Linked DNA regions of Homo sapiens: all the other regions are linked to region 2. The links are contacts of gene promoters, found by promoter capture Hi-C in blood cells and fetal thymus (Javierre and others, 2016). All regions are on one chromosome and are shown on one strand. Each heading gives the region's core, a stretch centred on a gene start or on the middle of the fragment in contact. The rest is flanking DNA. Distances are from core to core; before and after follow the strand shown. Region 1 overlaps SPO11 (SPO11 initiator of meiotic double strand breaks). Region 2 holds the start of FAM209B (family with sequence similarity 209 member B). Region 3 overlaps LOC105372687 (a long non-coding RNA gene). Region 4 has its middle 170 kb from the start of BMP7-AS1.

Region 1 (5,691 bases), core at 585-3,084, 810 kb after region 2:
AGGGGTCTTACTCCATTAATTCATTTGTTACATTAGTAAAATTCAGTATGAATAAATATTTGGATTGATGTAGTCTTCAGTGTTTTGCTTTATTTTGTATTGAGCCTATTTTTTATTGATAATATTATTTATTTGAAAAGTTTCTCGAAGGTCTTGAATGCTTCTCTAGTCTGTCTATAGAACAAAAAACTTCTTCAGTTTTAAGATCTACAGAAGCCTCAGATTTTAATAAGGTACTTCTCCAACAGTAAATATGTGACCTTTTCCCTCCATAAACCTATCTTAATTTTGCCAGAGGTCAGTTTTATGATTTTATTCTGTACTTTCAGTAAACCTTTAACTGCACTGAAAGTTTCTTGTGCTTGCAAGCAAGAATAAGAATTTATAGAAGCACGGTAATATTAGGTTAGCTATTTTATAAAGAGAAATGGTAACAATAATAATAATATATACCATTTCTGAGAACTTACATGTGCCAATCACTGCTGATTCAGTATCTCATTTAATTCCCCCAAGGACCTTGTAATTACTGGGTAACTACACCATAGTTTTCAGGTGAGAACACTGAGGATGCTATTTGTCCAAAGCCACAATAATACCAGGGGACAATAATACTACCTACCTCAAGAAAATGTGGGTCTCAATGCAAAATGTAAATGTGGGATCCCTTTTTATTAAGAATTTCAAGATGATAGCAGCAGAGAATTAAACCAAGCACAGGCCCTTCTTAGCCTGGGGTCCTGGGTGACTGCACGGGTGGTACACCTGTGAGGCTGGGCCTGCCCAAGAGGTTGTATGTAGTAAGGATTGAAGAAGGTAATATAATAATAAAGGAAAATACATACATAGCACTTACTATGTGCTAGGTATTTTTGTAGGTGCTTTGTAAACAATAACTCATTGCATCTTCACAGAAACCTTATGAGCTAGGTACTTTTAAAAAATCACCCCCATTTTACAGGTGAGAAAACAAAGGTACAGAAAGGTTAAATAATTTTCCCAAGGTCACATAACTAATAAGCAGTGGAGCTGGGACTTCAAACCAGAAAGTGTGGGTACCATGGCGCTAGTACAGGTAAAGTACTTCACGTGTGGTCTGTGTCCTCACTGCATGGAAAGGTCTGCAAGTCTTATTGTTGGCTAGTGTCAAATCAAGATCCCCCGATACCATACCTACAATTAACAAATATGTTATATTCCCTGGTCACATAGGAACCACACATTTCATTTTGGGAACATTCTGGTATGCTGTTAATTTTACTTACTCGTGAGACTATCAAAAATTCTAAAAACATTTTTATAAATAAGAAAAAATTTCCTCTGAATTTATACCATACTTACTCCTTTAACATGTAACAGTGTCACTTAACTTTGGTATGCTTTGTAAAGGAAGAAATTACTAACTTAAAAATATGTTTAACCCACGACACATCTGGCTTAGGATATACTATCAAAATGGGAAGGAGTGACAAATCTACGATAGTCATTCAAATTTAAAAATAAATTTGAAAAAGACAGATACCTCCAGTTTGGATAATTAAGTCATCTCAAGTTTATTATTGCAAATTTACTTAAAATAATTTTCAATTATTTGGGAAATGAAAATGGAAAGAGAGCAAAATACACTATAGTTTGACGTTACTACCTATCTTTATTAGATGAAAATGAAAAATTAATGCTAGTAGCTATTTGGGAACCATCTAGAATTCTAATTCTAAAGATTTCTTTCTAAAAAGGATTACCATAATACTTAGCATTTAAAATGGTAACTGATAACAATAATCTCATCTACCATCATCTAACTGTATCTAATTTGGATATTTCCATAATTTTAATCAAGAAAACATTAGATTGGAATCTTTAAAATTAAAATGTATAAAAACTAATACAACAAGGCTGGGCACGGTGGCTCACACCTGTAATCCCAGAGCTTTGGGAGACTGAGGAGGAGGATTGCTTGAACCCAGGAGTTCAAGACCAGCCTGAGCAAAATAATGGGACTCCCATCTCAATTTTTAAAAATTAGTTGGTTATGGTGGCACATGTCCATAGGCTCATCTACTAGGGAGGTTGAGGTGGAAGGATCACTTGAAACCAGGAGTTCAATGCTGCAGTGAGCTATGATTGCACCACTGCACTCAGGCCTGGGTGACAGAGTGAGACCTTGTTTCAAACAACAATAACAACAAAAACTAGTACAACAAAAAGGTGCTCAGAGACTCTTAGTTTTCCCTTAAGGGTTCATAATTACCCTAACAAACTAAAAGTTGCTTGTAGTATCCCCCGTTTTCTGAGAAATTTGATTATAATAATTGGTGATACTAAGTGATTTCAGAAGTTATGAGTTCATAGGGAAGAAAAACCATAGTGCACTTTATAAAAATAAGGAAAACCCTCCAGGGTTTCCATCTATGACTTCCTTACTGAGTGTCTCAGTTGAGCTGCTAGTTTGATGTAGATAATCTGTTCAGTGGTGCTGAAAAGAACATATTCTCTAAGCTATATATACATGTACATTAAAAGATTTTCAATGAAATGTTTTTGTAGTGAAATATTGAGAAACGTGCACTTCTGTTTGCTAAATGAACTTCTCTGTTCACTGTTACACAGATAGGTATCCCAAGGAAACAATCCTGTAGAAACAAGCCAAGGTCGCCCTCTGCTGGCAAACGCTCATTATTCTCTCAACTCCTTCCACTATTTTGGGTGGAAATTTCTTTGAAATGTTTTCAAGTCATTGTCTAAAGGAATGGGGTAGAGTCTTGAGTCACAACAAAAGAGTTTGGGGAAAACCAAGAGGGTTTCTATGTGATACACTCAACAGGAATCCGCTTTGTTAATCAGCTTTGGATGCCCCAATTCCCTGTAAAGCTACACTTAATGTGTGCTTCTTTGCAACCTAGCTATTCACAAAACTTTAAGCCAACATATTACATCTCTTTTATTAAAAATTCAAAATGAAAAGTAACTCATGCTAAGAATATAGGCATGTTCAGTTTCTATTCATCTAGCAATTAATAGAAACTGTACTTATTCATAAATATTCCCTGTGTAAAAATGGCAGAAAAGTTTACCAGTTTGAATGACAGTCACTACCAAAATTTAATTATTTTTCTATTGTTTAATTATTTTTCACCTATATTGTATGGCTCAATAATCATACAATCATACCCAGGGATAAAATCTTACTGATCTCGCAGAGCACGGTAGCTCACGCCTGTAATCCCAGCACTTTGGGAGGCCAAGGTGGGCGGATCACAAGGTCAGGAGTTCAAGACCAGCCTGACCAACATAGTGAAACCCCGTCTCTACGAAAGATACAAAAATTAGCCAGGCATGGTGGTGTGCACCCGTAATCCCAGTTACTGGAGAGGCTGAGGCAGGATAATCGCTTGAGCCCTAGAGGCAGAGGTTACACCGAGCCGAGGTCGCGCCACTGCACTCACTCCAGCCTGGGCGACAGGGCGAGAGTCCATCTCAAAAAAAAATAAAATAAAATACCGTTCTCCCTTTTTGTTTCTAGGAGGCAAAACATAAATCAGCATAATCTGCCACCTGTGGAAGTGTAGAGTTAGGTTTTGGGGCAGGCTGCTTGCATTCCAATTCTACGTCTACTCCTTGCCTCTATGGCTGGGACAAGTTACAACCTGATCTCAGTTTCATCAACCATAAAATGGGCATAACAACAATAATAATGACTTGGTAGGGTCATGGTGAGGATTAAATGAGATTATCCATTTAACAAGAGTCTTGGAATATCAGCTATAATATTTGGGCGAGCATACTGCTCCTCAGTGGTTCCACTGATGGTATATGCAAAAGCAGTTTGTCAACTACATAATCCTAAACAGCGGGAAGAGTTTATAGAGCATGCTGAATAACCAGGATTATAGAGGAATCTGTATCATAATAGAGGCTTCTGGAAGATACATTGGGCGTTGAAACATAAAATGCAACAAGTATTAATAACGAACACATGTAAGATACTCTGCTTGGTGCTGCAAAGCATATACATGGAAGTAGATACAAGTTTTAAATCTAGGAATCTAGACAAGACAAATACACTATTTAATGAGGCAGAATATGCCTCGAAACCCTGAGAGAGCTTTGGGAGGGCTTTTGAGAGTTTAAAGGAAAGATAGTAAGAGGAGTTCCATTGAAAAAGGATAAGAAAATGTAGTTGAAGCACTTCTCAGAGATGAGTCCAAAGCTTTGCTGGTAGGAGGGTCAGGCACAGGACAGACATCATGGACCTACTCTGTATCAGTTGTGTGAGCTCTGGTAAGTCACATTGAGAGATGACAGCGTGCTGGCAGTCCTCACAGCCCTCGCTCGCTCTCGGGGCATCCTCTGCCTGGGCTCCCACTTTGGCGGCACTTGAGGAGCCCTTCAGCCCACCGCTGCACTGTGGGACCCCGTTTCTGGGCTGGCCAAGGCCGAAGCCCGCTCCCTCAGCTTGCAGGGAGGGGTGGAGGGAGAGGCGCGAGCGGGAACCGGGGCTGCGCGCGGCGCTTGCGGGCCAGCTGGAGTTCCGGGTGGGCGTGGGCTTGGCGGGCCCCGCACTCGGAGCAGCCGGCCGGCCCTGCTGGCCCCTGGCAATGAGGGGCTTGGCACCCGGGCCAGCGGCTGCGAAGGGTGTACTGGGTCCCCCAGCAGTGCCAGCCCACCAGCGCTGCGCTCTATTTCTCACCGGGCCTTAGCTGCCTTCCCGCAGGGCAGGGCTCGGGACCTGCAGCCTGCCATGCCTGAGCCTCCCACCCCCTCCATGGGCTCCTGTGCTGCCCGAGCCTCCCCGACGCGAGTGCCACCCCCGCTCCACGGCGCCCAGTCCCACGGACCACCCAAGGGCTGAGGAGCGCGAGCGCACGGCCTGGGACTGGTGGGCAGCTCCACCTGCAGCCCCGGTGCGGGATCCACTGGGTGAAGCCAGCTGGGCTCCTGAGTCTGGTGGGGAGGTGGAGAACCTTTATGTCTAGCTCAGGGATTGTAAATACACCAATCGACACTCTGTATCTAGCTACTCTGATGCGGCCTTGGAGAATCTTTATGTCTAGCTCAGGGATTGTAAATACACCAATCAGCACTCTGTATCTAGCTCAAGGTTTGTAAACACACCAATCAGCACCCTGTGTCTAGCTCAGGGTTTGTAAATGCACCAATGGACACTCTGTATCTGGCTACTCTGGTGGGGCCTTGGAGAACCTTTGTGTCTAGCTGAGGGATTGTAAAGGCACCAATCAGCGACCTGTCAAAACAGACCACTGGGCTCTACCAATCAGCAGGATGTGGGTGGGGCCAGATAAGAGAATAAAAGCAGGCTGCCGGAGCTAGTAGTGGCAATCTGCTCGGGGCACCTTCCACGGTGTGGGAGGTTTGTTCTTTCGCTTTTTGGGACCACGTCGTCTTTATGAGCTGTAACACTCACCGCAAAGGTCTGCAGCTTTACTCCTGAAGCCAGCGAGACCACGAGCCCGCCGGGAGGAAGGAACAACTCCAGATGCGTCGCCTTAAGAGCTGTAACACTCACTGCCCGAAGGTCTGCAGCTTCGCTTCTGAGCCAGCGAGGCCATAAACCACCAGAAGGAAGAAACTCCAAACACATCTTAACATCAGAAGGAACAGACTCCGGATGCGCTGCTTTTAAGAACTGTAACACTCACCGCGAGGCTCCGCAGCTTCATTCTTGAAGTC
Region 2 (6,408 bases), core at 3,413-5,912:
GAGCCAGACCTTGTGTCCAAAAAAAAAAGTTGGGGTGCTTTAGTCCTTAGGAGTAGTCCTAGGGAAACAGAATCTCTCTCTCTGACTTTCTGTCCTCCTTTCCCTGCCCAAGGTAGGACTCTAATCAGATTGGGAGCCCAAAGACCTCATTCGAGAGGGTCATGCCGCATACCCTAGAGCAAGGAAAGCTGCACAGAGAGACCAAGAGGAATCTGGACAGGCCCTGATGGGTTCCCCAATCAGTCTGTTAATATGAGAGCATATTAATTTTTGGCCCAATCACATTTCTTCATGATTGTGTATCATCCCTGTTTAATGAAGCTGCCATTAAAACCCAAAAGAAGACCCGGCATGGTGGCTCACACCTGTAATCCCAGCACTCTGGGAGGCCGAGGTGGGTGAATCACCTGAGGTCAGGAGTTTGAGACCAACCTGGCCAACATGGTGAAACTCTGTCTCTACTAAAAATACAAAATTAGCCGGGTGCAGTGGTGCCTGCCTGTAATCCCAGCTACTTGGGAGGCTGAGGCAGGAGAATCGCTTGAACCCAGGAGGCGGAGTTTGCAGTGAGCCAATATTGTGCCATTGCACTACAGCCTAAGTGACAGAGTGAGACCGTATTTCAAAAAAAAAGAAAACAAATTATTCTTAGGCTGGGTGTGGTGGCTCACACCTGTAATCCCAGCACTTTGGGAGGCCAAGGTAGGCGGATCACCTGAGGTCAGGAGTTCAAGACCACCCTGGCCAACAAGGTGAAACCCTGTCTCTACTAAAAATACAAAAATTAGCGAAGCATGGTGGTGGGTGCCTGTAATCCCAGCTACTTGGGAGGCTGAGGCAGGAGAATTGCTTGAACCCTGGAGGCGGAGGCTGCAGTGAGCTGAGATTGTGCCATTGCACTCCAGTGGGTGACAGAGTGAGACTCCATCTCAAAAATAATAATAATTAAAAAATAAAAATACAGGCCTGGCACAATGGCTCAGTCCTATAATCCCAGCATTTTGGGAGGCCGAGACAGGTGAATCATCTGAGGTCAGGAATTTGAGACCAGCCTGGCCAACATGGTGAAACCTCATCTCTACTAAAAGTACAAAAATTAGTTGGGTGTGTTGGCGTGTGCCTGTAATCCCAGCTACTCAGGAGGCTGAGGCAGGAGAATCTCTTGAACCCAGGAGGTGGAGGTTGCAGTGAGCCGAGATCACGCCATTGCACTCCAGCCTGGGCAACAGAGACTCCATCTCAAAAAAAGAATAAATAAATAAACAAATAATAAATACAAATACGAAAATTAGGCAGGCGTGATGGCATGCACCTGTAGTCCCAGCTACTCAGGAGGCTGAGGAGTGAGAATCACTTGAACCTGGGAGGCAGAGCTTGCAGTGAGCTGACATAGTGCCCCTGCACTCCAGCCTGGGCGACACAGCAAGACTCTGTCTCAAAACAACAACGACAACAAAAATCCACTCAACCACCCACCCACCCACACACCCATCCATCCAACCATCCACCCATCCATCCATCCATTCATCCATCCACCCACCCACTAACCCATCCATCCATCTACCCACCCACCCATCCACCCTCCCACCCACTCATCCATCCATTCAACAACATACTGAGTATCTACTGTATGCCATTTTGGCAAGGAGCAGGAATGGAGGACAAAGTCATAGGCAGGAAAAGGATTCTGGAAAAGTGGTCCAGGCAGATGTCAGGACAAAGGGAAGAGTTTGCTCAAGTTTGTCATGTGGAGGAGCAGAGAGGACGCTGGCAGGGCAGGTGGGAATGGAGGAAGTTGGGTTTGCTGGGTTGATAAGGGCCAGATCAGACATCATTTTACAGAAGGATTCATTGAACAACTATGGTATGTACCACATGTGTTCTGTTCTTTTTCCCCTAGACTGCTCAGGAGAATTTATTCATTTTTTTTTAGAGACAGAGTCTTGCTCTGTTGCCCAGGTTATAGTGCAATGGCATCATCTGAGCTCATTGCAGCCGCAACTCCTGGGCTCAAGCGATTCTCCTGCCTCAGCCTCCCAAGTAGCTAAGATTACAGGCATGCACCACCACACTCAGCTAATTTTTTTTTTTTTTTTTGTATTTTTAGTGGCGACAGTGTTTCACCATGTTGGTCAGGCTGGTCTCGAACTCCTGACCTCAGATGATCTGCTCACATTGGCTTCCCAAAGTGCTGGGATTACAGGCATGAGCCACTGCCCCTGGCCATAGCTTGTAGAACTTCTTTGTCACTCCACAGAGCTCAGTACAATTTAAGGCACAGCGAGGGTGCCCAGCTGACTCTTGATTATTTCCTATGCAGCATAAAGTTCTGCTCCTCGGGAGTAAATCTGCGAATCAGAGCCTTCCTCAGGAAGATAGCTCTACAGATGACCCAGGGGAACAAGTACAAGCCGTGCATTCCAGCACCCAGGATTTCTTGTTTCATGTCATTTTAAAGAACTCATGGTTTCAGGTATACTGTGGAGTCCTAGGTTCATTCCCAGCCTTGGCCTCAGTTGTCAAGCTAGCTGTTCCTTCTCACTTGGGGGATTCAGCCCCTTCCCATTTTACCCACCAACTCCTAATCATCTCCCCTGCTCTACTCAACCATCTTTTTCTGGACACTCTTCCTGCATAACCTAGTATAGAGCAGTCCCCTTGTGCTCGTCTCTAAAGCTTCCTGTTCTTATCACAATTGTTTTTTCTTCTTTCTTTGTTTTTTTTTTTTTTTTGAGATGGAGTTTCGCTCTTGTTGCCCAGGCTGGAGTGCAATGGCACAATCTCAGCTCACCGCAACCTCTGCCTCCCAGGTTCAAGCAATTCTCCTGCCTCAGCCTCCCGAGTAGCTGGGATTACAGGCATGCACCACCATGCCCAGCTAATTTTTTTGTATTTTTAGTAGAGATGGGGTTTCTCCATGTTGGCTTGGCTGGTCTCAAACTCTCGACCTTAGGTGATCCACCCACCTCACCCTCCCAAGGTGCTGGGATTACAGGCATGAGCCACCGTGCCCGGCCTCTTACCACAATTTTAATCGAACTATACTCTTTTTTCTTTTCTGAAACACAGTCTCACTCTGTCACCCAGGCTGGAGTAGAGTGTCTTGATCTCAGCTCACTGCAACCTCTGCCTCCAAGGTTCAAATGATTCTCCTGCCTCAGCCTCCCAAGTAGCTGAGATTGCAGGCGTGCATTGCCACACCTGGCTAATTTTTGTATTTTTAGTAGAGATGGGGTCTCGCTATGTTAGCCAGATTGGTCTGGAACTCCTCCTGACCTCAGGTGATCTGCCCACCCTGGCCTCCCAAAGTGCTGGGATTACAGGTGTGAGCCCCTGCCCCTGTGCCTGGCCCAATGTATACTCTTTTTTTCTTTTCTTTTCTTTTCTTTTCTTTTTTTTTTTTTTTTTTGAGACTGAGCCCTGCTCTGTTGCCCAGACTGGAGTGCAGTGGCGCCATCTAAGCTCACTGTAACCTCTACTTCCTGGGTTCAAGTGATTCTCCCGTCTCAGCCTCCCAAGTAGCTGGGATTACAGGCACATGCCACCATGCCTGGCTAATTTGTGTATTTTTAGTAGAGATAGGGTTTCACCATGTTGGCCAGGCTGGTCTCAAACTTCTGACCTTGGGTGATCTGCCTACCTTGGCCTCCCAAAGTGCTGGGATTACAAGTGTGAGCCACCAGGCCTGGCTCCAAAGTATACTCTTAACCCAAGGCAGGCACACACTGCTGCTGTCAATGATGGTATGTGGTAATAGGGAGTGGTGGGGACTGTGGAGGGAATATGGCCACAGGATGGATGATTTCACTTGGCTCTAGCAGAAGACTGGTTCTATGACAGTGTGGGCCCAGTGCTTCCAGAACTCTTCATATTTTCTTTTCTTTCTTTTTCTTTTTCTTTTTTTTTTTTTTTTTTTTTTGAGACAGAGTCTTGCTCTGTTGCCAGGCTGGAGTGCAGTGGCGTGATCTCGGCTCATCACAACCTCTGCCTCCTGGGTTCAAGTGATTCTCCTGTCTCAGCCTCCCAAGTAGCTGAGACTACAGGCGTGTGCCACCACATCCAGCTAATTTTTGTATTTTTAGTAAAGACGGGGTTTCACCACGTTGGACAGGATGGTCTCGATCTCTTGACCTCGTAATCTGCCCGCCTCAGCCTCCCAAAGTGCTGGGATTACAGGCGTGAGCTGCCGCGCCCGGCCACGCTCTCATATTTTCAAAGGAAGCCGGAAACCTGGACTTTTAAAGTGAAATACCCACCCCCCACAACATTTAAGTACTGACTAATAATTTTTAGAAACAACATAGGCCAAACAAAACACATAGGTGGCTCCGAGTTTGTAGGTAGCCTGTGGTTTAATATCTTTCTCTCCCATTTAACTCAGCTCCACGGGGCACATGGCATCTCCCTCTGCTCATCATAGTGTTTGGATCAAACAAATGAAAAACAGAAACATGACGGCCTCTACCAGCAAAAGCTCGAGGGTTGGAAAGAGTCCCCTGGCAGGGAATTGGCACCCCGTCGTGCCTATCCTCTCTCTCTGACTGCCTGCTGGAAATGCCCCCATCTCCCTTTGAGTCCTCCTCCCGGGCGACTCCTGTGACCTGTAACCTCTGTCCTGAAATCATCACAATGGCCAGGGTGGCCTCAGCTCAGGGCCTCTGTGACATCACCAAGGGCCTGGCACCAGGTGCCCAGTCTTCCAGTTGCGAGGGCAAGCAAACCCGTCATGAGCAACTCCCTTCCCCATCTCTGCTCACCATGTGGACGCTGAAATCGTCCCTGGTCCTGCTTCTGTGCCTCACCTGCAGCTATGCCTTTATGTTCTCTTCTCTGAGACAGAAAACTAGCGAACCCCAGGGGAAGGTGCCGTGTGGAGAGCACTTTCGGATTCGGCAGAACCTACCAGAGCACACCCAAGGCTGGCTTGGGAGCAAATGGCTCTGGCTTTTGTTTGCTGTTGTGCCGTTTGTGATACTGCAGTGTCAAAGAGACAGTGAGAAGAATAAGGTAAGGATGGCTCCATTTTTTTTACACCATATTGATTCAATCTCAGGAGTCTCAGGGAAACGGATGTTCTAGTGAGTCTAGGCGGCACCGTTGGGTATAATGAACCGACCTCATGGTCCTGGGCAAAGCTGGCAAATTCACTTCCTGATGTATCCTTAGTGAAGACAATAGTCCCCACATCCACAGATATTGGGACAAACAGTGGAAGATGACCTCTAGTTTCTTGGCTCAAAGTTCTTCTGGTTAGATGGATTTTTTCAAATGTAGGATAGATTCAAGAACTCAGCCGGGCGCAGTGGTTCATGCTGTAATCCCATCACTTTGGGAGGCCAGGGCAGGTGGATTGCCTGAGGTCGGGAGTTTGAGAACAGCCTGGCCAACACGGTGAAACCCCATCTCTACTAAAAATACAAAAATTAGCTGGGCATGGCGGCGTGTGTCTGTAATCCCAGCTACTCGGGAGGCTGAGGCAGAAGAATGGCTTGAACCCTGGAGGCAGAGGTTGTGGTGAGCTGAGATCACACTACTGCACTCCTGCATGGGCGACTGAGACTCTGTCTCAAAATAAAGAACTTATGGTGTGTTTTAGAAGGTCAAAATTATATTATTCACAGGGCCAAATTCACTGTTCCCTTGCTTTTTACATTTTTCCTAGTGCTTGACTTACTGAAAATTCCTGAGCTAAATGGAAATGATATCATCCCAACAAAATATGAAACTTCTGTAAGGAGATAAAGGTGTAGGCCGGGCACAGTGGCTCATGCCTGTAATCCCAGAACTTTGGGAGGCCGAGACGGGCAGATCACTTGAGGTCAGGAGATTGAGACCAGCCTGGCCAACATGGTGAAACCTCGTCTTTACTAAAAATACAGAAATTAGGCCAGGCGCGGTGGCTCACCCCTGTAATCCTAGCACTTTGGGAGGCTGAGGCGGGTGAATCACGAGGTCAGGAGTTCGAGACCAGCTGGGCAACATGGTGAAACCCTGTCTCTACTAAAAATACAAAACCTAGCTGGGCGTAGTGGCGGGCGCCTGTAATCCCAGCTACTCGGGAGGCTGAGGCAGGAGAATCACTTGAACCCTGGAGGCAGAGGTGGTAGTGAGCCGAGATGGAGCCACTGCACTCCAGCCCAGGTGACAGAGTGAGACTCTGTCTCAAAAAAAAAAAAAAAAAAAAAAAAAGCTGGGCCCAGTGGCTCATGCCTGTAATCCCAGCACTTTGGGAGGCCGAGGCGGACGGATCATCTGAGGTCAGGAAGTTGAGACCAGCCTGACCAACATGGAGAAAGCCCGTCTCTACTAAAAATACAAAATTAGGCGTAGTGGCGCATGCCTGTAATCCCAGCTACTCGGGAGGCTGAGGCAGGAGAATCGCTTGAACCCGGGAGGTGGAGGTTGCAG
Region 3 (5,909 bases), core at 3,137-5,636, 790 kb after region 2:
ATTTATAATAACCCAAAACTGGAAACAACCCGTGTCCAGCAACTGATGAACAGATGAACTACATGTGGTCTCTCCATGCAGTGGAATAGCATTTGACCATAACAAGGAATGAAACACAGATCTATGCTGCGTGGCAGTATCTTGAAAACACTACACTCAGTGAGAGAAGTCAATCACAAAAGGCCACATACTGTATGACTCCATTTATGTGAAATGTCCGGAACAGACATATTCATAGACAGAAAGTAGATGAGTGGCTTCCAAGGGCTGGGGGAAGGGAGAATGAGGTGAGACTACTAATAAGTACAGAGTTTCTTTTGGGGGAGACAAAATGTTCCAAAATTAGATTGTGAGGATGATTGCACAACTTTTTCAATACACCAAAACCCATTGAATTGTATACTTTAAAAGAATGAATTTTATGATGCGTGAATTAGATCTCAATAAAGATGATTTTAAAATGTTTTCTGAGGGGCTGGGTGCAGTGGCTCATGCCTGTAATCCCAGCACTTTGGGAGGGTGAGCTGGGTGGATCACCTGAGGCCAGAAGTTCAAGACCAGCCTGGCCAACATGGTGAAACCCTGTCTCTACTAAAAATACAAAAATTAGCCAGGTGTGGTGGTGCACGTCTGGATTCCCAGCTACTCGGGAGGCTCAGGTACGAGTATTGCTTGAACCCCGGAGATGGAGGTTACAGTGAGACGAGATCACGCCACTGCACTCCAGCCTGGGGGACAGAGCAACACTCCATCTCAATAAATAAATAAATAAATGTTTTCTGAGGATCCCTGGTTTTCAGAGTGTTCAGGGAGTTGGTGGGGGTGGGGGACGTGTCATGAAAATATAAGTTTAGTGAATGCAGGCTAAGCAAGTCCAGCAACAGTTTTGATACAGGTCTTCTCAGAGACTTTAATTTGTGGATATAACTAGTGATACTCCCAAAAGGAGTATGTACTAATACCAGATAATGCTTATTGAGTATTCGCAGTGTTCTAGTCATCTATTAGCTTATTTATATGTATATTAACTAATTTACTCCTCACATTAGCCCTCTGAGATGGACCCTATTATTCCACTTTAGAAATGGAAAAACTGGGGCACAGAGAGGTTGAGAATCCTGCCCAAGATCACACAGCTAACAAGAGGCAAAGCCAAGATCTGAACTTAAATAGCCTTGCTCTGGGATTCACGCTAGACTGCTTATCTTGGTACAGTGTACAACATTTCCAAAACAGGTTTGACCATAGCTTACTTGAATAGGAACAATCTCAAAGGATCTGCCTTCTCTCCATCCTTGAGGTCTGCCTCCTGGATCTAGAAGCATCTCTCACTGAGACAAGTGCAACATCTTCCCCATCTCCTTACCTCCACTCTCCCTCCCCACACTGCACTCTCCTTTTTTAACACACACGACATCCTTCCCTTGCTTCAGACCCTCTGATGGCCTCCCACCACTCTTAGACCAGCGTTTCTCAACCTCAGCACTATCAATATCTGGGACTGATGAGTTCTCTGTGGTAGGGGCTGTCCTGTGCTTTGCAGGACATAGGCAGCATCCCTGGCCCCTTCCCACTAGATGCCAGGAGCAACTGCCCCCAAATGGGTGGCAACCAAAAATGTCTCCCAACATTGCCAAATGTCCTTTGAGGGGCAAAATCGCCCCCACTGGAATCACTGCCTTAGAACAGAGTCCTGTTTCCTCACTGTGGCCGATAGACGTCCCCGCTCATCTCTCCATCAACGTTGGCCTGCTCTCTGCCCTTTAAGTTCTCCCAGTGAATCTCTCCGCAGGGCCTTTGCATAGCTCCTCGCTCCCTCTGCCTGGAGCTCGTCCCCTCAGATCTTCTTCATAGCTAAGGCTTTAGCTCCAAGGCCCTCACCTGAGACAGGTTTCTTCTGCCCTCCTCTCTCCCACCTTCATTGCACTTTCCTGCCCAGTCACCCACTTTCCTACCACACAGATTGTTTTTCCCTCTAACACACTGTGATTGAACTTAAATTGTGTATTTTTTTTCCTTCTTTGTTTTTCTTTAGACATGGGGTCTCCTTCTGTCACCCAAGCTGGAATGCAGTGACTTGATCATAGCTCACTGCAGCCTCAACCTCCCGGGCTCCAGTGATCCTCCTGCCTCAGCCTCCCAAGTAGCTAGGACTACTGGCATGAGCCACAATGTCCAGCTAATTTTTTAAAAAAATGTTTTGCAGAGATGGGGTCTCAATGTGTTGCCCAGCCTGGTCTCAAACTCCTGGGCTCAAGTGATCTTCCTGCCTCAGCCTCCCAAAACGATGGGATTACAGGCATGAGCCACTGTTCCTGGACTTTTTTTTTTTTTAATCTGCCTTCCCCAGCAATGTGTGTGCAGGAACTTGGTGATGCCAAGCTTGGTTGAATCTCCAGTACTAAGAAGGGCCCTGGGAACCATGAAGGTGCTTAAACCATTTGTTGGATGAATCATAAGCCTGCCAATGTGTAAATTGGGCAGCCCTTCTGGTGTGTGCCTAGGAGTGGAAGAGACAGAGATGTGGAAAGGAAAACACCTTTTGGGGTTTCATCGCCTTGGGTTTGAACACTGGACATGCCTTCTGGTCCTTTGCAAAAGTGCCTCTTTCTCCCAAAACCAGTTGCCAAGAAGTCTTAAAAAATGGAAAACAAACAATAAAAAAGAAAACGAAGAAGCGAAGGGAGAGAAGGAAAATTACTTCAGTTTTAAAAGTCTCCTTAAATCAGAGCAAGTCTCTGTTTAATGTTGACTGATTTTCAAATAAAGCAGAGATGAGGTTTTGGAGCTAGCTGGAAAACACTTGTGATGGGGTGTCTCTAGGTCAGGGCCTCAGGATTCCAACCAAGGGGGAGGGTGGAGGAGAGCAATTAGCAGCTCAGCGAGGGTGTGAGGAGGAAAGAAATAAAGAGCAGAGAGGATGAGTCAGGCTGGGCTGTGGCACAAAGCCACCCTGCGTGCTAACAAGCAGAAAGCGAACCAGGTCGGGGAACCTCCCCTGCAAATCCCCAGGGCGACTCAGTGCAGCAGAGGGAAGCTGCTTTTTCTAAAGCCCTCCTCAGCTTTCTCCATCTGGGTCTGTAGTCTGTGAAGGGATTTTGCAGGCTGCAGAGATTTTGCTCAGCATGACTTATCCTCCCGGGCTTGGCTGCTACTTCAGTGAATGAGAGGCTGAGATTGAGGCTAGCTCTGAAGTTCTCAACCTGGAAGCCCCAGCCAGAGGAGTTCTGGAAGGTTACAATGGAGGTTCTAAATATTTTAAACCTAGGCCGGGCACGGTGGCTCATGCCTGTAATCCTAGCACTTTGGGAGGCCAAGGTGGGCGGATCACCTGAGGTCAGGAGTTCAAGACCAGCCTGGCCAACATGGCGAAACCCCATCTCTACTAAAAATACAAAAATTAGCTGGGCATGGTGGTGGGTACCTGTAATCTCAGCTACTCAGGAAGCTGAGGCAGGAGAATCACTTGAGCCCGGGAGGCGGAGGTTGCAGTGAGCTGGAGATCACACCACTGCACTCCAGCCTGGGCGACAGAGCAGGACTCTGCCTAAAAATAAAAAATAAATATTTCAAACCACCTACGAAATATTTTTATGAAAAAAAAATCAAACCAGAAACAGTTAAGCCTCCAAATTCAACTCTCAATTTATAAGAAATACCTGAAACAGAAAAACATAGTAAATTATATCACAGGGATGCAATCCCCAAACTCCTAATTGCACAAAACTCTCTGGGACTAATGACTCAGTTTCTTCAACAAGTAAATTGCAAGGAAAGAAAACTGGAGAAGAACCTATAGAATTTAGGAGACTTAAGAGTCATATCAACCAACAGCCATGTGTGGATGGACCTTATTCGCATCTTGATGAAAACAAACTAAACAAACATAACAAATGCCGCATGGTCTCGCTTATATGTGAAATCTAAAAAAGCCAAACTCATAGAAGTGGGAGTAGCATGGTAAGCAACAGAGTGGGGGCTAGGGGACTGGGGAGATAGGGGTCAAAAGATATAAAATTCCAGTTAGACAGGCTGAATAAGGTCAAGAGATCTACTGTACAACATGGTGCCTAGGTAGTTCATGACAAGCTATTGTATTCTTGAAAATCGCTGAGAGTACATTTTAGGACTACCTGTGTGTGTTCTCACCACAAAAAAATGATAAGTATGTGAGCTAAGGTGTATGTTCATTAGCATGATTTAGCTAATCAAGCTAAATATGGATACAGATTTCAAAACAACATGTTGTATAGGATAGATATACACAATTTTTATTTGTCAATTAAAATAGATAACTTTTTTAAATGAGAAGAAAACAATTGCTGAAACAATTGGGGCAATTTCAACAGATAGAATACTTGGTGATATAAAGAATGATTGTTAACATACCTTTTAGTATGATAATGGAATTATAATGTGTTTAAGAGTCCTTTTTTTTTTTAGAAACATGCTGAAACACTTATTAATAAAATAATATGATTCTTGGGATTGGTTTCAAAATAATCTGGTGTGAGGGTAGGTAAGGGGGTGGATGTGGGTGACAAAATGTTGGCCATGAGTTGACAGTCATGGAAGCTGGTGTTGGGTCCACGGTAGTGCATGACAGCACTCTCTAAAAATAAGTGAACATCCTGCTTTTGTTAATAAGATGACCCATAGGCTTGCAAATATTTTGGTGATCTTCTTAACATTAGATTTCATTTTATTCACACCAGGATATGATCTGCTTTACATCACACATCCTGGTACATGATCACTAGCTACAACAACAAGCAAATTAATTCATCAATACTAAGTTGCCTTGACTTTGAGGCAATATCGTATAGCGGCTTAGATCAAAGAAACCCTTCCTGTCAGCACCTTATCACTTGCATCTCTATGAAACCCAGCAATTTTTATACTTCTTGGTACTCAACTTTCTCTGCTGTAAAATGGGAGGGGGTAAATGAGATTTTATGCATGAAGCACTGGGCCCAGTGTCTGACCGTCAGCGAACCTTAGTTCCTATTATTACCAGAAGCAGCAATACCAGTCTGCAGAGTGAAGTCTTACTCTGGACACGTTGCTAATTTGGGCATGAATAGAAAAATGCCTGGGATAAAATACAAGGAATAGGTAACAGAGGTAACCCCATGAGGAGTCACTCATTCAATCATTCCATGTGCCACGTGGAGCTGTGGGCACATGGTAACCAGGAGTCAAGACACAGGGGTGTAGCCCAGGAAGATGTTCAGAGGGCGATCTGAAGGCTGCAGGAGAGTTAGCCAGGTTGGATTTGGGAGGGGAAGGGAGGGGAGTAGGGAAAGAAAAAGGACAAGGGGTCCCAAGCTGTTAAGGGAAAGGCAAGTGCAAAGGCCTTAGAGCAGGAAGGAACAATTCCAAGATGCAAAGGTTGCAGCGAGAAGAGCAGACCAGACCAGAAGCAGTGGCTCACACCTGTAATTCGAACACATTGGGAGACTGAGGCAGGAGGATTGCTTGAGCCCAGGAGGTCAAGGCTGCAGTGAGCTTTGATGGCGCCACTGCACTCTAGCTTGGGTGACAGAGGGAGATCCTATCTCAAAAAAAAAAAAAAGAAAGAAAAAAAAAAAGGAGGACCCAAGAAGGTGGAGCCAGTGCAGCTGCAGTGATGGGGAGCGGGGAGGTCTCTTTCTCTTTCGCTCACATCTCACACACTTCTGAATTATGTCAATATCTTATGAGAAGCATGTAGCAGTCTCACAATTTTCGAAAGCTAAAAAATGCAAAGGAAAAATGGCTATAAACCCTCAAGAAGTAAAGAAAATATTATGGCCTTTTCTCTACTTCTTGTCTAACAAGAAGCTACCATATATTTTTCTTTTTTCTTTTTTTTTTTTTGAGACAGGTTCTGCTCTGTGGCCCAGGCTGGAGAGCAGTGGCGTGAATCT
Region 4 (5,766 bases), core at 2,965-5,464, 520 kb after region 2:
TGTGCTGGGACAGGCACTGGTGCCACAGCAGCGAGGAAAACAGACAAAAATCCCTGCCCTTCTGGATATGGATATTTGGGGCCCTGTGAAAGACCAAGCAAAGATGCACTGATTTTTCTTCTATGCCAAAAGAAAGCCTGAATGTATTCATTCAAACCCACGTTTCCATCTTTTGAGTACTTTCTACATGCCAAGCCCTGTGCTGGACCCGAGTCTAGCCCCTCTTCTCTGGAGCAGCTCTTGCCTCTTGGCAACACCGCATGTATAGAAAATGGTAGCATCTAGACAGTGTCCTGGGCTTAGGCAGCCAGGCTCTGGGGAGTCCGTTATGAGGCTTGGTGAAAAGCTTCATGGCATTTAAAGTACTGTGTAATGATAATAAAGACAAAATACAAAGGATTACGGGGTATATTTAATACTGAGTTTTGTTTAAAGCTTCCAAATAAAATCTTCTTACCTTAAAAAAAGAACTTGAACTTGCTTCCATATAGGTTCCTAGCTTATGCCAGATTTTATGCTTGACATGATAGCACACAATTTCTCAGCAAGAATTTTGTTAGGGATATCTGGAAATTACTAATTGCCACTCTTTATGAGAAATTTTGAATAAATAAGGAATATATTTTTTAAAATCATTTTTAAAACAATATTCAAAAAAGGAACATAAAAGAACAGGTGAAAATTATATTGAAAGAATCCAAAGATTCTTTTAACAACATAAAATATTGTAATTTCTTACGATTGTATGCAAGAATTCCAAACTGAACTTTTCCATACCACGTACTTCGAAATAACAGTGATGCTCTAATTTGGAGAACAGACATGAACTGTGAGTGCGGTGACTCTGAAGCCAGCTTGGATGATGCTAAAAGGACACATCAGCTGCAAATCAACACCAGCTGGGCTCTGGGCCATCTGGACCCTGCCCACCTGCAGCCTCCACCCAGCCTCCTGCCTCCACCTCCCTCCAGCTACACCTGGGGTGGCACATCATTCACCTTCAGCACCTGAGACACGAGCTCCCTCAGCGCCCCCAGGGGCCCTTGTCCATGAGAGCAGAGGTGTGCTTGCTGTGGGATGTGGACGAAGATGCTGAGATGCTGGAGGATCTCCTGGTTGAACCTGGAGCATCAGGCAGAGCAGAGTTTGTGCCGGTTGTGTGGGGAGTATGGGGCAGCCATTCACCTCACCCAGCTTGGGCCATCCTCCGAGGGTCCCTAGAGGAGGCTCCAGGCAGGGGATGGCTGGAACTGGAGCCCTGCAGACTTGGGTCTCTGACCACCCTAATCCCTGAGCACCATGTTATGCACTGGTAGCTCACCTGTAGGGCTAGAGCAGTGGTTCTTGAAGTGGGGTCCCCGGGCCTGCAGCATCAGCAGCATCGGGGAACTTGTTAGAAATGCATATTCTTGAACAAAAAACCAAACACCGCATATTCTCACTCATAGGTGGGAATTGAACAATGAGAACACATGGACACAGGAAGGGGAACATCACACTCTGGGGACTGTTGTGGGGTGGGGGGAGGGGGGAGGGATAGCATTGGGAGATATACCTAATGCTAGATGACGAGCTAGTGGGTGCAGCGCACCAGCATGGCACATGTATACATATGTAACTAACCTGCACATTGTGCACATGTACCCTAAAACTTAAAGTATAATAATAATTAAAAAAAAGAAAGAAAAAAAAGAAATGCACATTCTTTCCCCCCATCCCTCTGCACTCTGCGTTTTAACAAGTCCTCCAGGTGATTCGGGTGCATGTTCAAGTTCAAGAAGCCCAGGTCCAGAATTGCTTCTTGTGTCTTACCAGCCTTCTTCTCAGCTATCTCGATCTGTTGGAGGTCCCCCTCTGCCAGGGAACAGTAAGACCCTGCGAACAAAACTTCGCTATTGCATCACCTGGAGAGAAATGCAGATTCTTGGGCCCCACTCCAGACCCATGGGGGATGATTCAAAGGTAAAGTTTGAGAATGAGGGACAATCTTGTTAAAACGAGTTGCTGGTTTGAGAACCTGCAATTCTTTGTCTTTTCTCTTTTCTTTTCTTTTCTTTCTTTCTTTCTTTCTTTCTGTCTTTCTTTCTTTTTTTTCTTTTCTTCTTCTTTTTTTTTTTTTTTTTTTTGAGACAGGGCCTCATTCTGTCAGTCCAGGCTGGAGGACAGTGGCACAATCTCGGCTCACTGCAACCTCTGCCCCCGGGGCTTAAACGATTCTTCCACCTCAGCCTCCTGAGTAGCTGGGACTACAGGTGCTCATCACTACACCTGGCTAATTTTTGTATTTTTTTGTATTTTTTTTTTTTTTAGAGACAGGGTTTTGCTGTGTTGCCCAGGCTGGTCTCCAACTCCTTGACTCAAGAGATCCGCCCACCTCCACCTCCCAAAATGCTGGGATTACAGCTGTAAGCCACTGTGCCCGGCCAAGAACCTGCATTTCAAACATGCTCCCAGGAGAGGCTGATGCTATGGGCTTTGGCCACACTTTGAGTAGCAAGGTCCAAAGCCCCTAGAACAGGGCTGGTGAGTGGAGGAGGAAAGAAGCTCTCAGTAGGATTTCTCCTGCCTCACCCTCAAGCTCAAGTCCTGGAAACTTCTGGGAAGTGAACTGTAGTTGGAATCTCTGTTTCTCCACTGAGGGGCTGTGTGACCTTAGGCAGGAGACTTCACCTCTCTGGTCCTCAGTATCTTCAGCTATAAAGTGGGTCTCCTGAGAGTGACTCCTCCTAGTGCTGCTAGGAAGGGATGGAAGCAAATGAGCCATCAGGCACAGGGTGCAGGCGGGGGTTCCCCTCCTCACATGCTCTCCTGTGGACTAGTGATGCTGGTGGGTGGCCGAGGACGCATCACAGAGACCCCTCTGGAGTGGGTAACTGGAGAGGACCCAGACAAAGCCCTGGGCGAGCGCCCTGCACAGAGACCCTGCATGGAGGGGGAAGGAGGCCCTCCATTGATTGGGACATGCTCATCTTGACCATCCGTTGACCACCCCCAGCCTCAGGAATGCAGATCCCTGTGAACTGTCCGGAGACCACACCCCAGTGCTCCAACGAGTCTTGGATGTGCGGGTGGAGGGCGAACCCCCTCTTAAAGCTGGGGCCTACGGAGCAGTTGCTGAGATGAAATTCAGGCCTGGCCCCATTTAAATCCAGCCCCCACCTCCCCCTCCTTCCCAATTCGGCCTCCTCATCCTGCCCAACCTGCTTCACACCCCGACTCAGCCAGCAAACAGAGGTCTCCCTTTCCTTCCTCCAAAAGGGAAGGGGCTCCCCCAGGGCCTCCGCTGGAGTGGTTCTGGGTCTCCAAAGTCGGAAGTGCAATCGTGACCAACTCTCAGCTGCACCCTCTGCTGCCTGCAGCGGGTGTTTCACTTGCTCAGCAGGAATCCTGCCCCTGGTGACACCTCCACCCCAGGAGGCCAGCAAGCCCCTCAGGGAGCAAAACCAGTTGCTCTGGGAGACCTGGGCCTTCCCCACCGCCTCCCCCTGTCCACAGAGAGGGGCGGACATGCGGCACCAAAAACCGTGTTTCTGACTCTGGCATCAAAGGTCATCCCTTGTTTCTTCCTCAAGCGACGTTCAGTGAGCCCTGGCTAGGGGCCAGGTACTGTGCTGGGACAGGCACCGGTGCCACAGCAGCAAGGAAAACAGACAAAAATCCCTGCCCTTCTGGATATTACATCCCGGCAGAGAGACAGAGACAGCGTTCCAGTTACTTAATAAGTAAATAAAAATACAGTGTGTCTGGTGACAAGTTTGTTGGAAACAAAGCCTGATAAAGTCACGGGGGCCCGGTGCTATTCTAAAGAGGGAGTCCAGGCAGGCCTCAATGAGAAGGGGACATTTGAGTCACGACATTAAAAAGGCAACGCCTGAGCCAGGCAGGTATCTGGGGAAGGGCTCATCCGGGAGAAGGAACAGCCAGTGCAAAGCTGCTGAGGGCTTAAGAAACAGCAAGACCGCCAGCGTGGCCACAGCGAAGTGCCGGAGGGAGGGGAGGAGGGGAAGTCAGAGGCTCTCGTCACCTGCGGTTCTCAGGGGACATCTGGCGACATCTGGAGACATTTTTCCATTGTCATAATTTGGGGAGTACTACTTGCCATCGAGTGGGTGGGGGCCAGGGATACTGCTAAACACCCTGCAATGCCCAGGGCAGCCCCTGCTCAGAGAACGGCCCAGCCCAATGTCAAAAGTGCAGTAGTTGAGAAATTCTGCTCTAGGGCTTGGCTCTGCTCCGCTTATAAGTCACTGCGATGACCTTGCTGTCACCCTGAGAGGGGAGGAATCCATTGCAGGGGCTGGAGCATTAAGATCACACTTTGGTTGCAGCAGCACCCCCTGGCTGCCAAGTTGAGAATGGGCAGCCCAGAGGCCAGGAGGGCAGCAGGGAGCCCAGGGAGGAGGCCGATGGAACGCCCAGGTGAGAGGGTGGTGGCCCAGGAGAGGTGATAAAGGATCAGAGTCCCCACCTGTGATTTCATCTTCACCCAGTAATTCCAACCTGGGGCGCCAGCCTAAAGAAATAGGCACATACTGAAAAAAAAAAAAAAGGTTCACAAAGGAGGCTAGTATTATGATTGAAAGACAAAATTGGGAGTAACATCTCCATTCATTCAACAATAGGGGCCCAGACAGGCACAGCTGGGGTGGGAACTCTGAAAAGGTAGCCTGCTCTCCAAGGTGCCTCCTTGCCTGGAGAGGGGCTCCATCACTGTGTGTCACCTGGGCCATCAGGGAGATCATGGCCAGCACCTCCATGGGCTCCCACACACCCCCTCTGGAGGAGCTTGGGGGATGAACCTGTGGCTGGAACCCGTGGCTGGAAGGATGTGTGGAAAATGAAGACAGAGCTGGTTGAAGGATTTTCTTCTTTGTTTTGATATTTATTCAAGTAATAAAATCCAGGCAATGAGTACTCAGACAAAAGAGAACAGCCACACTCACCAGGCCCACCAGAGGCATGAGGGAGGCAGGAAGAGCCTGGAGGTCTGGAGAGGGGCAGGCCCACCTCTGGGGCGCGACAGGGGCTGGCCTGAGCCTGAAACCAGTGGGGTGGGGGTTTGGGATGGGGTCAGCACACAGCATCGCACCCTCTGAAGACCTGTCCCTGAGATTCCAGGGCCGCTCCTCCGCTTCGCTTCCCACTCATCATCCATGCCTCCCCCCACCCCCCACTCTCACCACCTTCTAGACCAAGTAGTGTAATTAAAGTCAGCAATTTTGTTGGGCTCAACCTGAACATGTGGGTACACGGGCTCCCGATTTGGCCTGCCTCCGAGCGGCGGGAGGTGTTTCCAATAAACTTGGGCGTTTTTAATGAGTCCTTTACAACTGCTAAATAATTAAGCCAAAGATTGACAAGAGCAACTGGTAGCCCCAAATCTTGGCAGCAAATAAGAGGAGCAGGGTCCCACCCTGCCATCCCCTCCAGCGGGCCTGTAAATTACGCCGCAAAGCACAAGTACAGCTGTCAGAGCACGGCAGCTTGAGCAGCTTAGGAAACTAACAAGCACCTATAGGTCTCACAGTTACCTGGGAGGCCTTATTTTATTTTTTCCAGGTTTGATGGGGATCTGCATTGAGGATGGCGTCTATGCCACTCGTACGGCGGAGACCCAGAGTTCCGCAGATGTGTGTGGTCAAGCCTGCCCAGCAGCGTGGCCAGAGACAGAGCAGATAAAATATAAGATGTCCAGGTCAATTTGAACTGCAGATAAACAATGAGTAACTCTTCTTCTCAGCACAAGCAAGTCAGGGCATACTTACA

The links. Contacts are between HindIII fragments. The CHiCAGO score rates a contact against its expected background, and 5 or more counts as called.
Region 1: a fragment that was not itself captured here is called in contact with the fragment with the promoter of FAM209B in region 2 in 1 of 17 cell types (endothelial precursors); the score reaches 5.7 in endothelial precursors.
Region 3: a contact is called between a fragment that was not itself captured here and the fragment with the promoter of FAM209B in region 2, in 1 of 17 cell types (erythroblasts). The highest score is 5.5, in erythroblasts.
Region 4: a fragment that was not itself captured here is called in contact with the fragment with the promoter of FAM209B in region 2 in 1 of 17 cell types (M0 macrophages); the score reaches 6.1 in M0 macrophages.

Annotation. Positions count from the first base shown.
Region 1 is chr20:57,343,922-57,349,612 of GRCh38, forward strand. It overlaps SPO11 (SPO11 initiator of meiotic double strand breaks), which reads left to right. Exons shown (of 13, transcript NM_012444.3): 13 at 1-72. Among named protein-coding and RNA genes, the nearest start is that of RAE1, 4.5 kb to the right of the region's middle. The HindIII fragment of the contact is 4,748 bases long and covers 1-4,208 here.
Region 2 is chr20:56,528,584-56,534,991 of GRCh38, forward strand. It overlaps FAM209B (family with sequence similarity 209 member B), which reads left to right and starts at 4,663. Exons shown (of 2, transcript NM_001013646.4): 1 at 4,663-5,007. The coding sequence starts at 4,759. It also overlaps a transcript of FAM209A not described here. The HindIII fragment of the contact is 5,101 bases long and covers 2,675-6,408 here.
Region 3 is chr20:57,320,236-57,326,144 of GRCh38, forward strand. All of the region lies in intron 2 of LOC105372687 (a long non-coding RNA gene), which reads right to left. MIR4325 (microRNA 4325) reads right to left here and starts at 1,356; the gene lies at 1,267-1,356. The HindIII fragment of the contact is 4,013 bases long and covers 2,381-5,909 here.
Region 4 is chr20:57,044,116-57,049,881 of GRCh38, forward strand. No RefSeq gene overlaps it. Among named protein-coding and RNA genes, the nearest start is that of BMP7-AS1, 170 kb to the right of the region's middle. RefSeq lists an enhancer at 604-1,105. The HindIII fragment of the contact is 7,563 bases long and covers 434-5,766 here.